2 separate regions of the Homo sapiens genome follow, and region 2 is linked to region 1. The links are contacts of gene promoters, found by promoter capture Hi-C in blood cells and fetal thymus (Javierre and others, 2016). All regions are on one chromosome and are shown on one strand. The core of a region is centred on a gene start or on the middle of the fragment in contact, and the rest is flanking DNA. Distances in the headings are between cores, read along the strand shown. Region 1 holds the start of CFAP20DC-AS1 (CFAP20DC antisense RNA 1). Region 2 holds the start of LOC105377113 (a long non-coding RNA gene).

Region 1 (4,805 bases), core at 950-3,449:
GTACCGTAAAACTTAAAGTATAATAAAAAAAAATCATGAAAAAACAAACAAACAAACAAACAAACAAAAAAAACCAAACACCGCATATTCTCACTCATAGGTGGGAACTGAACAATGAGATCACATGGACACAGGAAGGGGAATATCACACTCTGGGGACTGTTGTGGGGTGGTGGGAGGGGGAAGGGATAGCATCAGGAGATATACCTAATGCTAGATGACGTGTTAGTGGGTGTAGTGCACCAGCATGGCACATGTATACATATGTAACTAACCTGCACAATGTGCACATGTACCCTAAAACTTAAAGTATAATAAAAAAAAAAAAGACTATACAGACTGATCCCTTTCCATCTTTGCTCATAGTGATTTTTAAGTGTTAGAAAACAAAAAAGTAACCAATGGAAACTTTTCAAATAAAAACTGCTGACACGAACACATAGAAAGGTGAACAACTAGCTGTCTGAGGCTAGACATCCTCACCTACAAATGGATATTGATGGAGTTCAGGACATGGCATTTACAGTAGCAGGAAGGTCACTCTCACCTTCTCCTGTTCTCCCCTGCAGCTGGTCATAAAACATAGCTAGGATTTTCTGAACACCCCCTGGAGCAGGTCATAAGATACTCATTTGAGAGATGCCGTCCCTATCCCCTGAAGAAAGGAACATCCTTATCTCTGAAGACACAGGGACACAGAGAAGAATCTGAACAAAAGCCTTGCTGATTTTCTTCGTTTATTTCCATTAGCTCATATCTCCTTTGCCCAATCATATTTCTCCACCACTTTCCTCTCTTCATCAAACCTGGAGTAAAAATATTCAAGTTTCACTGTTTGTTCAGTTCTTCATTTCCTTATAAAGACTCCTGTATCATGGAAAACTTACATGAAATAAATTTGTATGTTTTTCTTTTGCTAATCTGTCTTTTGTTGCAACAGAGGCCTTGGCGATGAATCCAGGGTGGGTGAGAAAAAGATATTTTTCCTCCCCTACAATATGCTTATAAACATATGTAGCAGTAAACCTATTTCTAGGTAGGTAGCATCCTGTGAAAGCACCAATGAAATAATATAGAATTTGTTTTGATTTTGGCATTCAGTCATACCTAGAGAATATCGTAAGTAGATGCAAAGGGATGACAACCAGTATCTACAATGAACTACGACCATCATCATAATAGCGGCGATTGACATTTATTGAGTACTTATGCTAATTCTTGGTAGATATGATCTTATTTGATCCTCAGAGCAATTCTATGAAATAAATAGGATGAACAACTACATTCAACAGAAGAGGAAATTGACACTGGGTATTAACCCAGGATCGTGCCTGCCAGGAAAGAGTGGAGCTAGAATGTGAACCCAGGCAGTCTGAGTCCACAGCTTACCCTCTCAACCACTAGTCTGTAGTGTTTATTCCAGCTCGAGAGTGCATCTAGAGTGGTGACTATTTAAGTTTTTGAATAACAAAATGACAAAATCAGTTCTGTTTGTGGCAGGAAAAAAAAGTGACCCTGAAGAAATACATTTATTTGAAATATATATGACTATCTCCTTACCATAAATTAATTTCATTGTTTTCATTCTCATGACATGTCACTATGTATTTACAATTTAAAAAATCAGTTTTGCCACGTTACTAAATTTGGGACAATCATAAAATGTAATAGACAGTACTCTGAGAATAAGAAAAGTTTATTTCCTGGGGTGACTTTCATAGTCACTAAACACAGAACAACTTGCACATTTCAATATTTCCTCCTGACAGTACAGATACTGTCTCTATTGTCACTATTACACTGACTCTAATATCAGTTTTCGTATATCATTTCTATAGTTGTATAAGAACATCTGCTCATATGATTTATCTGCAGCTTAGCACAATCAACTGCATACCTTTTTAGTTCAGGAGGATTAAAAGAAAACTCATTCTACCCAAAGAGAGCTGAGAAGTTAATGAATCTGTAGATCAGAACAAATTAAAACCTATTAATTATAAGGAGTCTGAAATGCCAATATATTATATTTTGAATACACAGCAACCAGGAATATCATGCAAAAACGCTGATATGCTGTGGAGCAAAGAAATGGAACAGATCCCAGAAACTCAGGACCTCGGCCTTTTGGTGGCGCTGTTGCTATGTGCTAGTGCCAGGAAAACAGTATTCATATATAATTAACTACCACGGAGCACAAGCAGCTTTGCTTTTCCATGATCAAGCTGCTAGAGATTTTGGGGTGAGGGAGCGAAATGAAGGCTAAATAAAAGAACCGGAGATAAGATAATCCTGCCATGTTAAAAGGTAAAGATAATATTTTTATGTTGTTATGTAAAACCTATGAAAATGGCGATAATGTTGCAAGGTTAATCAAGACCATAAATAACTTGTCTGAGAACCTCACCATATGCCTGCAGTTTTATTAAGTGTATTTTGCCTCGTTATTCTCCGAATATTATGCTCTGCAACATGCCATGTTGATGGATGCATGCAATGAGCTTTTCTTTTCTTTTTTGTAAGCTAAAGAGACTTATGTGCTTGATATTAGGTATGGGAATTCTTTTTTTTTTTTTTAAGAGATGGGGTCTCATTGTGTTACCCACACTGGCCTTGAATTCCTGGGCTAAAATCCTCCTGCCTTAGCCTCCCAATTAGCTGGGAATACAGACCTGTGCCACCATGCCCCCGTTCAGGTTATGTTAATTATTAACCTGAAGGAATGACAGCTTTGGGGCATCTGCTCACAGGGTAGCTGCACAATAAACCTACTTTTCTTGAATCTACATTTGAGGAGAGACAGTGAAATGAAATATTGAAATAATGAGATAATGAAGGAGTTTATTTGGAAGGATCTGAGGGAGTCAGTCTGTATGCTGATGGTTAAACTCACATCAAAACAAACACTACAGAATCTCTGCTTACTCTTTCAGGTCTCAGTCGTCATAAAAAGGGAAAATGTCCTAGAAATTCTGTTCTGATCACTCAAGTGGCCCTTTGAGGAGAATAACCTTGGGGAAACAGCAGTTGACAGTCAGTGTGAGCTTACTCTGCTAAGCACCAGGCACATGCATTTCATGTACTCATTCGATTTGCATAATGCCAATATTAGGAAGGTTCTTTTATTATTTCCATTTCAAAGATGATCATGTCCATAAATGGCAGAGCTGGAATTTGAGCCCAGGTTGACTGATCTAGAGTTTATATTTGTTTGGGCATCCCATGAAGCAGTGTCCATTGATAGCTGTTCCTGTTCCTTAAAAAAAGAAAACACACACACACACACACAACATGGCTTTATGCTATTGTCAATCAAAATCCCTCACCAAGATAAAATTCACTTAAAATTCATTATAACTAACTCCTAGTGCCCTTCCAAAGGCTGCCGAGAGCCCAGTTTTTGAATAAATCTCACGAGGGCTACTCCTAACAGAAACTCTCCAAAATTGATTGATTGTAGCCTGGTTTCCACAGAAGTTGTAAAGTATTGTTTTAATTGAATTTGGTTCTAAGTTAGAAACTTTGAAAAATTTGTCTGTCAAAGGCCAATGGATTTCTCAGTAGGCTTGATTTATTTAGCAAGAGATGCCTACAAAAGCCAATTTGCTATGAGGAATGTGGTTACATTTAATTACACTTTTAAATGACTAATTTGTTATATCTAAACACCTTTTAAACAGTACATATTACTCTGAACTGTACAGATGCTGAGGAATCAAAGTTTGTGTTAAACACAAAGGATTTTGCTAAAGACTCTTCATTTTACTCTGCGTAGGCTTTCTGGCTTCAGACTGCAATGTGTGTGAAGTCGTCAGGTAAAAATGCTAAACTGAATGGGACCGGACTACATCTTTTTCTTCCTATTTGCAATCAGGCCCTGCTCAGAAGGAGATTTTCCTTTGGGTGTATATTTAATATCCATTTATCAAATCTTGAATTGAAAATATTACATGCATCACTCAGGATTTATTTAAGCAAAGCAAAGCTGATGTTTATTTTGGAATCTTGACGAAAATTATTTTAGAGTAAAAAATGAATTTTTAAAAATTATACTTTAAGTTTTGGGATACATGGGCAGAATGTGTAGGTTTGTTACATAGGTACACATGTGTCATGGTGGTTTGCTGCACCCATCAACCCGTCATCTACATTAGGTATTTCTCCTAATGCTATCTATCCCTCCCCTAGCCCCCTACACTCCGACGGGCACTGCTGTGTGATGTTTCCCTCCCTGTGTCCATGTGTTCTCACTGTTCAACTCTCACTTATGAGTGAGAATATGCAGTGTTTGGTTTTCTGTTCCTGTATTAGTTTGCTGAGAATGATGGTTTCCGGCTTCATCCATGTCCCTGCAAAGGACCTAAACTCATCCGTAAACAAGGAATTTTTAAAAATATTATTGATTGATTCATTCAAGTAATGACTGACAACTAGCTGTGATGCCTTGTGCTAGCCTTTGTGCTCCAACACAGAAGGTATGAAAGAACACAGGCAGGGTTCTGCCTTCAAGGAATTCACAACCAGGCCTGGGGATAGTGGTAACAGTGGTTGGCTAATGTCATAAGTGCTGTAATTGAGCCAGAAGATAACAGGGACCCAGAGAGGGAAGCGAATAATTCTGTTCAGGGTGGGATGAGGGTTGGGGAGAGTTTCATGAAGCAGTGACAAGTGAGTTGGGGCCTTCAGAAATAAGCAAAAGGAGGGATAAACAGTCAGAGTACAGAGAATTTTAGGGGCAGTGAAACTACTCTGTATGATACTATAATGGTAGATACATGTCACTATACCTTTGTCTAAATCCATAAAAT
Region 2 (4,805 bases), core at 1,705-4,204, 1.0 Mb after region 1:
AGTAAGACTTGTAATGTTTTCAGAAATAAATATGGGTTATTCTTAATCAGGTATATTATAAGAGTAGCTTATAGAAGGAGATATGCATTGTTTCTGCAGTGAAGGAAAAAGCATAATTTAATTTTTGACAAAATCAGAAATATTATAAGGTATATGTTCAGCTGCAGAAGCTATAATACCTTTGACTTTAGTTCTTTAAAATAAATTATAGATACACAACTATATGCACTAACAGCCTAAAAGTAAGTCATGCTGGGTTTTTTTCCATACAATTTTAATTAGGTATATTTTTTCCAATGTGTTTTGAAATGATCTGCTAGGACCAAATGCTAACATGAAATTCCCTGCATGCTGGTAGTTAATTTAATAAAAATTAGAAAGGTGAAGCCCTGTTCCCTAGAGGGAGAAGGTCTTAACACAAAACATTCATTATTTCCACATAAATTGCAAAAAGTAAAGATGCTGGATTTAAAATCTAAGCAGGAAGAAACTGTCAACTTTCATTATCAGTGGACAAATGTTTTAATTTGCAATATTCCCTAGCAACTTTTTGAACAGACAACTTTACCTCTTTACCAACATCTACTTTAATTCCTAATTTGCAGCTGCATAAGTACTATGTTGGGCCCAAAGCTTTGGGTATATCTCTTAGAGGTAATGGAATCCTTGTTGTTTTCTGGCACTGCCTCATTAAAATGAAACTCAGACTCAGGGTAACCCTGAAAAACCTAAGCCCTCCAATAAAAAATGTGGTATATCCCTGCACTTAAATTACGCAGGAGAAGTGAAGGCTGGTACATCACACACAGAAGAGAAGCTAAAGGTCAAGCTATTAGAGTTAATGAGCCGATACAAGCTCAGGCTCTCTAACCAGAGAGGTTAGGGACAGAATACATGGCCACCCCAAGGAACTTTATTTAAGATATCAATTAAAAATGAGTCACCTCTCTTCTCAGCTCCTGCACTCAACACTGACACTGGGAACAATGACTGAAGGACTCACACATGTCTGAGAAAAGGCACCTTGTGGGTGTGACTTGCCACAAAAGCAAGAGTCTTTCTGCATTTGTAAATGTGTTGGTAAGGCAACAAAAAGAATACTACTGTGCAAGGGGAGGTAGAGGTGGTGATCCTGGCAACCTAAAAGCCTGATTGTATGTTCTAATCCATTCTGATGTCACCAAAGCTCCCCTTCGAGGGAATAACCTGGATTATGGCCAATACTTTCTACTTCTAATAGTCTTCCAGTTTCATTGTTCACAAGGGGTTGGTAAACAAAAATCAATGAAAAGAGCAGGGTCTTCTCTATTTTGGATTTGGACACTGATGATGAAGCTGTGATATTCTGATCCAGGACTCAATGGCTCCTCCTGGATCTTCTAACAAGGTCAATCTGGCTGAGTTCCAGACAGTCAGCTGATGGTCTCATATGAGGAATCTAAAGTTGATGAAGATGGTGGTAGTAGAGTGGTGTAATCCTCATAGCTCAAAAACGATCAGAGCTCATTAATTATTAACTAACTAGAACTTTTATGGCTCATTAGCTACTGGTTAAATGTCAGGTAAAATGTAATATTTAATAGAAAATGTTAAGATTAGAAATATGCAGAGCATTTCTTATGTGCCAGACCTATGCTAAGTATTTCATATCCATTATTGTACTTGATCCTTACAACTCCCATGCAAGGGACCTATGTTTATCTCAATTTAACAGAGAAGAAGGCAAAGTGTGAAAAACTAAGTAACTTGTCTTAAGTTAAACAGCTAATGGAGTGGTAGACTTGAGCTTCAAACCCAGGTTTAGCCAACTCCAAGCCCATTCAATTATCACTTGATACACACCCAACCTATGTAATACTTAGCTTTGTTCTTAGTCATTGTTGCAAAGCTCATTTCACCCCTCAGTCAGGCTTATTACATTCATTCGTGTTCTCAAGAGACAAGAGGGTCTTGCCCAAAACTACAGAATATCACTATCACAAGTTGCCATTCCCACTAGAATTTACCTTGATCCCCAGTGATGCTACATGCATTATTATGTTAGTTTCTTCTTGGAGGTGTTATTTTTAAACTGCAAGATTAAAGCTCCTACAAGCTTCTGACAACATGAAAATCAGACACGACTTTGCAGTCTTTTTAAAACAAACTAGTAAGAAGGTCCCAATTAAGAGAAAAAGAGTAGTCACACATACCTGTAGAACTGATTGTAATTTACCCTTTCATCTTGCTCTAAAACACATTCCTTGAGTCTCAGTTTAGTAGAGATAAGATTCACCCAGTCGGGGGATATTAGTTCTTCCTGGATATTTTAATTAAACTGTTACATTGAGTAGTTCTGAAAATCACATATAATCATTCAAGGTATGGTGGAGTTCTGTTCTCCAGCATATGGCTCTCCACCCAGCCACATTCCATCTCCTTAGGTAAACTAGCTGGAGGCCTTCAGTGTAAGCTCTTTAATTTTTAAACTCTTGGGTGGTGCTTTGTTCTTCGGGTAGAGAGTAGAGCAAGAGAACGAATTACCAAACAGTAATATTACCCCCATCGACAAGCGGGTGGTGTTTATATCACACATACTATATACCAAGAAATGCGCCACACCTTTTACATGAATACTCATTTTAAAACAGTAAAGACTTTATATTTAGAGAAGTTTTAGGTTTACAGCAAAACTGATAGTAAGGTACGGAGATAGCCCACATATCCCCTGCCCCACATATGTTGCCTCCCATATTAACTTCCCCCCACCAGACTGGTACATTTGTTACAATTTGTGAACCTACAAGGACATATCACCCAAAGTCCATAGTTTACAAGAGGATTCAGTCTTGGTGTTGTACATTCTATGGGTTTGGGTAAATGTATAATGGCATGTATCCACCATTACAGTATCATATAGAGTAGTTTCATTGTCCTAAAAGATCCTCTGTGATCCGCCTATTCATCCCTCCCTCCCTCCTAATCCTTGGCAACCACTGATCTTTTTATTATCTCCATAATTTTGCCTTTTCCAGAATTCCATATAGTCAGAATCATGGAGCATGCAGCCTCTTTAGGTAGGCTTCTTTCACTTAGTAATATACATTTAAGTTTCCGCCATGTCTCTTCATGGATTGATAGCTAATTTGTTTTTGGCACTGAATCAGAAACCCTTGTTGGGATGTACCACAGTGTATTTATCCATTCACCCACTGAAGAATTTCTTGGTGGCTTCCATGTTTTGGCAATTAAGGATAAGACTGCTATGAACATTCATGTGTAGATTTTTGTGTGGCTATGTTTTCAACTCCTTTGAGTAAATATCAAGGAATACAACTGCTGGATCATGTTGTAAGAGCATGTAGTTTTGTAAGAAATCGCCAAACTGTATTCCAAAGAGGCTGTAATATGTTGCATTCCCAACAGAAATGAATGAGAGTTCCTGTTGCTTCACATCCTCTCTAGCATTTGGCATTGTCAGTGTTCTGATTTGGGCTCTTCTAATAAGTGTGTGGTGGTATCTCACTGTTTGAACACTCATTTTTGAAATATCCACATAGGCTATTATGATCTTCATTTTACAGTTCAAGAAGCTGAAACTCAAAGAATGTAGATATTTCAAACTGGCCATTGTAAGCTAGAGCCAAGATTCAAACTCAAGTTTGGTGAATTTCATAGCCTATACTTTCTATCATTGAGGTACATCTTGTTTTCTCAGTTGTATTATGTGATTTGCAAGTCCTATGAATAATATATTTAAATTATACCAACATGAAAACTAAGTGTAATCTTCAGTCAATAAAATATCCACTAAATACTTCAAAATATGAAACTGGAAGCTTATCTAAATGAACTAATTCTTTAATATCACCATGAAAGGATGATGTTTTAAATTAAGAAGTGAAGAATTTATAGTTTCCAGATTGAGAATAATTTCCACAAATTTTTATTTTCATCATATTCTATTGTGGGTGTGCATGTGTGTGTGTGACAGACACATATGCAGACACAGAGATATGGGGACACACACATAGACACTTTCCATCTCATGCCATGTTGGAACTTCCCAGAGACAGTTAAAATTAGCTAGCTAATTTCCATAAACTATCAAAATAAAATTATACTTATTGAGAGTCTAGAGTTCCTGTCATGAAGACTTAGCAGTTAAAAAGCATGGAAGTCATGGAATCTCAGTGCTCCTTCGTTGCAATCCACACTCCTGCTACAATTAGAATCCCACCAATAGATAAAGTCATCAGGAGCTAATTAGTCCACGTGTAAAAAATAAAAATAAGACAAAGAACAGACTTCTAAAAAAAACAAAAACAAACAAAAAACAACAACAAATCATTTGAACCATTGGGTACTTCGAGTACATGAAAATTGTGAAGTAAATTAATTAGCTTTGCATTGATTGGTATCAAAAGTCGTTAGCCCTGCACTGCAAGGAAATCCCCAGAAGCCTAAGGTGCATGAAAGAAAAAGGCTGGGAAGGAAATCAATCTCTGCTCTTCAACGCTGATGCTTTAAAGGGTCCCTGCTGTATAACTCGCCCGGAAGCATTCCAGGGGGAAGAACCCACAGATTTATATCTGCCACACGTGTCACTGAACACAAATACGTCTGATAAATAATTGAAGCTCGGTATTGTGCTTACGTCGCATGTGCAAAAAAACAGGGACAGGAAGGCAAAGAGGTCAAGTTTCCCATCTGACTTTCCAATGAGCATCCCAATCATCACTTAGGTCATTATTCTACCTCGTGAAGTGTCAGAACTCATTGTCTTAGGGAATCCAGGTGCTGGCATCACATATTTAGCAAATCTC

What was found. Contacts are between HindIII fragments. The CHiCAGO score rates a contact against its expected background, and 5 or more counts as called.
Region 2: a fragment that was not itself captured here is called in contact with the fragment with the promoter of CFAP20DC-AS1 in region 1 in 1 of 17 cell types (endothelial precursors); the score reaches 5.0 in endothelial precursors.

What each region holds. Positions count from the first base shown.
Region 1 is chr3:58,822,272-58,827,076 of GRCh38, forward strand. It overlaps CFAP20DC-AS1 (CFAP20DC antisense RNA 1), which reads left to right and starts at 2,200. Exons shown (of 3, transcript NR_110820.1): 1 at 2,200-2,304. The region is part of intron 14 of CFAP20DC (CFAP20 domain containing); the gene reads right to left. The HindIII fragment of the contact is 7,858 bases long and covers 1-4,805 here.
Region 2 is chr3:59,849,736-59,854,540 of GRCh38, forward strand. The region is part of intron 8 of FHIT (fragile histidine triad diadenosine triphosphatase); the gene reads right to left. It overlaps LOC105377113 (a long non-coding RNA gene), which reads left to right and starts at 1,299. Exons shown (of 3, transcript XR_007095936.1): 1 at 1,299-1,387. The HindIII fragment of the contact is 1,723 bases long and covers 2,094-3,816 here.